Regions from separate parts of the Homo sapiens genome. Here region 1 is linked to region 2. The links are contacts of gene promoters, found by promoter capture Hi-C in blood cells and fetal thymus (Javierre and others, 2016). All regions are on one chromosome and are shown on one strand. The core of a region is centred on a gene start or on the middle of the fragment in contact, and the rest is flanking DNA. Distances in the headings are between cores, read along the strand shown. Region 1 overlaps MAD2L1-DT (MAD2L1 divergent transcript). Region 2 holds the start of NUDT6 (nudix hydrolase 6).

Region 1 (2,700 bases), core at 62-2,561, 2.8 Mb after region 2:
CTCCTCTTAGTTCACTGAAGATCTTTTAAGTAGAAAATTGACAAGATCTTTTAAGCACAAAATTTTTAAAAAATTCCTGTTTTTGCAGCCCTAGTCAGGGTACCCCTTTTGGCCATCCACTCTTAGCCAGATGAGCCAGTATTGCACCCTGGATCCTACCTCTTGTTTCTTTTCCTCCAGTTTTGGACTCTTTTCTTCCACTTTTGGATTATTTTCCTTGTTCCAATTCTGTGACTTTCCAGCCATTCAGCTCCATTGGTTTCCATTGCTGAATGGGTCTCAGGAGTTACATAGCAAGGATGGAGGAATATTAAGGACCCACTATAGTTTGCCTCAAATTAGAGTTATCTAAAATATAGTCAGATCTTTGATGCTTTCAGGATTCATATTCTGGTACCATCTAGATTGCTTGGATTTGACTCCAGTTCTCCTAGCTGGGTGACCTTAGCTAAATTATTCAACTTCCTTCTGTAACTTAATTCAGGTAATAGTAGTATCTAACTCTTGAGCTAATGAGGGATTAAATAAAATGATTCTTGTAAAGCACATAGAAATGTGCCTGGCAGATAGTATGTGGTTAATAATGTTGGCTATCATTATTATATATGTTATAAGAGTTTCTATCTCATCTGTGCCTTAAGTTGTATTATCTAAAGCCTCCTTTAGTTATGCTAAACTAAACATGTACCAACCCAGGAAAGGTGCGTGGAAAAGTGGTGAAAAGCTGTCTTATTAACAACAACAGTAACAATATAATAATAAAACAATAACAATAACATATTAGCATTAAGCCAAAGCTTCATTTAAATTATCTCATGTAATACTCAGAAAAATTATATGTGACAAGTACTATTGTTACATCCATTTTACCGATAAGGAAAATAACTCCTATATAATTCTTCTTAAATTGTCCAGATAGTCTGCTTCTAAGAAGTTTCTCTGGAACATGCTAGGCTAACATCTTTTTTTGACATATCTGCATGTGATCTCTGCTGTTGGTAGATTGCTTGGAGATTCCTGCTTCTTTTAGACAAGACCATGACACTCCCTCATTATGCAACCAGTAATAAAGTTTTTTTTTTTTATGTGATCTAAGTGGACTTTTATGACAGGATTTGTTGAAACCCCTAAGATGGCTTTTATTCTGTGCTTTGGGCAGTGGTAAATAGATGGGGTTCAAGAGTCTGGAGCACTCCTTCCCAATAAGAATGTATTTTCCTTACAGGATTGTTCTGCAAAGTCCATTATAAAGAATGATAGCTCACGCCGGGCATGGCGGCTCACACTTGTAATCCCAGCACTTTGGGAGGTCAAGGTGGGTGAATCACTTGAGGCCAGGAGTGCAAGACCATCGAAACCTTGTCTCCACTAAAAAATACAACAATTAGCTGGGTGTGATGGTGCATGCATGTAATCCCAGCTACACAGGAGGCTGAGGAATAAGGATCACTTGAACCTGAGAGGCGATGATTGCAGTGAGCTGAGATGGTGCCACCACGCTCCAGCCTGGGTGAAAGAGCAAGACTCTGTCTCAGAAAAAAAAAAAAAAAAAAAAGAATGATACTTCAAATTTCCACATAGGCATGCAGGTCAGCCATCCTAACTAGGTCTATTCCATATTTACCTAGAAGAGAGGACAAGCACGGAACACTACTATTCCCAACTCAGGTGCCTCATCCCCTAATCAATAAGGTTTCTGCAAACATCCTCAAAATCAGTGGCTTCCAAAGTGGAATATATGCAAAAAACAATCCTTTTGGGAGTATAGGAAGGAATGTTACAACTTCTATTTAATTTATGTTTTAACCTAGGAAAATAAGCTTTACTAAAAAAATGGATTTCAAAAAATGGACTGACATTGCACACTCACACAGTCTCCATGTCAGAAGGTCACGTTCTTACTCATATGTGGAAGTTAAAAAAGTTGATCCCACAGAAGTAAAAAGTACAACAGAGAATACTAGAGGCTGGGAAGGGTAGGCGGAAAGAGAGGACAGAGAGATTTGTTAAAGGAAACAAAATTACAGCTAGATAAGAGTAAGTTCTAGTGTTCTACAGCACTTGTAGGATGACTACATCCTACAAGTTAATAATAGTTTAAAATAGCTAGAATGGGGATATTGAATGTTTGAAACACAAAGAAATTATAAATGTTTAAGATGATAGATAGGCTGATTACCCTGATCTGATCACTATACATTGTATAGACCACAACATCACTATGCACCCTGTAAATATGTACAATTATTATTTGTCAGTTTTAAAAATTTAGAAAAAAAAGGGAGTCATAGGCCATGATTGGTACCCTGAGGAAATGCAAGTCAGCTGTGCCAGATTTACTGGCTCTTTCTCTTTGCAGTACTGTGCTAACAAGAACTTCAGAAAAATTAACATTCTTCCATTCCGTTTTTCAAAAGACACTCATGTTATGGAAGGAGCACGTTTGAATAAACTTTTTTTTTTTTTTGAGATGGAGTCTCGCTCTGTCACCCAGGTTGGAATGCAGTGGCACGATCTCAGCTCACTGCAAGCTCCAGCTCCCGGGTTCATGCCATTCTCCTGCCTCAGCCTCCTGAGTAGCTGGGACTACAGGTGCCCGCCACCACACCCGGCTAATTTTTTGTATTTTTTTTTTTTTTACAGGGTTTCACTGTGTTAGCCAGGATGGTCTCAATCTCCTGACCTCGTCATCCGCCCTCC
Region 2 (2,700 bases), core at 196-2,695:
TATTACACATCAAATATAAATTTTCAATTTTTAATTCAATTTATAAGACTTTTCAGTATAAATACGTTCTCCCAAATCAAAGGAGCTGTCATCTAGGAATGGCTTTTAAGTCAAACACATCTGGACTCAAATATCGGCTCTGCCACTTAGCACCTGTGTAGCCTGAATGGAATCACGTTAACTTTCCTCCCTCTATAAAACTGTCATTACTATACCCATCGGTCACGGCTTCTGTAGAAATTAGATGAGCTATATATACTGCTAACACTAGTGTGCAGTTACTAGCAGTTATTAAATATCATAACCTGCGTAGTACTGGAAGAAAATGCTATCATCACTCCTAAAGGCAGAGTGATCCACATTTTTACTGAATTGGTTATTTAGTTTTTTAGGATAAGTATCCCATGTTCGCTAGTTATGAACAATTTTGCAATTAAATGTGTCGTTAATGTTAAATGAGACAAAGCGTTTCAAGTGCAACTTAAAAATTCAAAATAATTTACAAAAGAGAAACCTTGGACACGGATAAACCATTTCAGCCTAACTTCTCCAGTGCAGGCGCGGCTACGTTTGCATGCTTCTTACATACAGAAGTCTTACACGCTTCTGTGCCGCTCTCAGACCCATGCCACGCCCAACTTTCAAAAGTCTCTGCACCCCAAGTCAGTATCACTGAGTCTCCCGCCCCTCAGGTTGCGCCCCCTCGGCCTCTAGTCTCCCACCCGGAATTCTTTACCCTTTTCTAATAAGTTGGTCACCGTCAGAGTCCCGGAGGTTGCCGCGAAGTCTGATCCAGCAGAAGGAGCCCGTGCCTCCGCACAAGAGGAAGCAGCAGAGGGCAAGGACGAACCATTTTCCGCGCTTTGGTTCAACCGCTTTCTATTCTTCTTGGAAGACATGGTCACAAGGTACCCTAGCCGAAGCAGTAGAAAAGCCGACTCAATGTGCGCGCTTCAACTGAGAGAAAAACTTCCGGGGCAGAAGTCAGCGAGGGTCCGCCCCTGCGCCGTAATCCCCTGAGTGGAGCGCAGCAGTGCACAGCGTGGTGGGAGGGACTGAGCGTTTTCAAAACCAGCAGTCTTTGAAACAGCTGTAACGGCATCTGTGAAAGAAGATAGGTTCCAGGAACGGAACTGCCACTTAGATTGTAAATTCCTGAAAAACAGGACGTTTTTGCATCTCCTCCCGGCTTCCCCATCCCTAAACCAACGTCTGTTGAATTAAACTACCAAACAAAATAAGTGAGTGGCGGTGGGGGAGGAGGTTTTCCCCGCTTAACTGGAGCGGGGCAAATTGCTGAGAAGGGCTGGTGGACCACTTCGCGGTCTCCTTGGCATAGCTCTGCAGAGTGGTAACCCCAGCTCAACTCTGAGGGTATTGATGGCACTCTTCTAAAATGTACGGCCGCGATCTCCGCTCTGGAGCGCGGAGGGGTCATTTGGGCAACGGACGAATTAAGCGGCGTGGAGATGCGGCAGCCACTGAGCTGGGGCCGCTGGCGCGCGATGCTTGCCCGAACCTACGGCCCCGGGCCTTCGGCGGGTTACCGCTGGGCCTCGGGCGCACAGGGTTACGTGCGGAATCCGCCAGTTGGAGCGTGCGATCTGCAGGGCGAGCTGGACAGATTCGGGGGCATCTCGGTGCGCCTGGCGCGGCTCGATGCGCTGGACCGCCTGGACGCTGCCGCCTTCCAGAAGGGCTTGCAGGGCAAGTGCGCCTGGGACGAAGGGCTCCCGGGGCTCCAGAGCTTTTCTAATGAAATAACCGCGGCCCCCACTCCCTAGTCGCTCTGTGCACCACTGTCGAGCCCAGAGGGAAAGGGAGAAGGCACGCGTGACCTGGACCTGTTTTCTGGAGCATTCGTGCTTAGACCTTTTGCTGGGAGGTCTCTAAGGCGGTTGGGTGAAATGGTGAAGATCCCGGACTTTGGGATCTGCAACCCTGGTTGCTGGTCCACTTTCTACTGTGCGACATTCGGAAATTGCCGTAAACCACCATTTCCTCTTCCACAGACCCCGGTGATAAGAACTCCTGGAATTACTGAGAGTTAATTTGGATAATGCACATAAAGTGCACAGCACAGTGCCTGCCACGTATTTAAAGCTCAGTAGATGTTTGTTAATATTATATTATTACATTATTAGTATCCTTTACCGAGCCTTGGTTCTGTCGGACACTTTTCCCAAGGAAAAAAACTCTTACATTCTAATACGGGTGGTGGACTGAGTGGACCAAAGAGGCTTTTCTTTTTTATTTTTAATTTTTGTGGGTCCATAGTAGGTGTGTATGTTTATGGGGTATATGAGCTATTTTGATAGAGGTATAAATGTGTAATAATTACATCAGGGTAAATGAGATACTCATCACCACAAGCATTCAACCATAATCCAGTTACTCTTAGTTATTTTTAAATGTACAGTTTGTTTTTTTTTTTTTTTTTTTTTTTGAGAGAGGGTATCATTCTGTCTCCCAGGCTAGAGTGCAGTGGTAGGATCAGGGTTCACTGCAGCCTCCAACCCCTGAGCTCAAGCAATCCTCCCACCTCAGCCTCCTGGGTAGCTAGGACTACAGGCGCGCATCTGGCTTTTTTCTATTTTTTCTAGAAACGGTGTCTCACTGTGTTGCCCAGGCTGGTCTCAGTCTCCCGGGCTCAACTGATTCTCCCGCCTTGGCCCCTCAAAGTGCTGGGATTACAGGCAG

What was found. Contacts are between HindIII fragments. The CHiCAGO score rates a contact against its expected background, and 5 or more counts as called.
Region 1: a contact is called between a fragment that was not itself captured here and the fragment with the promoter of NUDT6 in region 2, in 2 of 17 cell types (total CD4 T cells and non-activated CD4 T cells). The highest score is 7.1, in total CD4 T cells.

What each region holds. Positions count from the first base shown.
Region 1 is chr4:120,075,581-120,078,280 of GRCh38, reverse strand. The region is part of intron 1 of MAD2L1-DT (MAD2L1 divergent transcript); the gene reads right to left. Among named protein-coding and RNA genes, the nearest start is that of MAD2L1-DT, 10 kb to the right of the region's middle. The HindIII fragment of the contact is 1,023 bases long and covers 800-1,822 here.
Region 2 is chr4:122,921,342-122,924,041 of GRCh38, reverse strand. It overlaps NUDT6 (nudix hydrolase 6), which reads left to right and starts at 1,445. Exons shown (of 5, transcript NM_007083.5): 1 at 1,445-1,707. The coding sequence starts at 1,470. AFG2A (AAA ATPase AFG2A) reads right to left here and starts at 964. Exons shown (of 16, transcript NM_145207.3): 1 at 737-964. The coding sequence starts at 899. RefSeq lists enhancers at 603-972, 765-1,301. The HindIII fragment of the contact is 3,202 bases long and covers 1-2,700 here.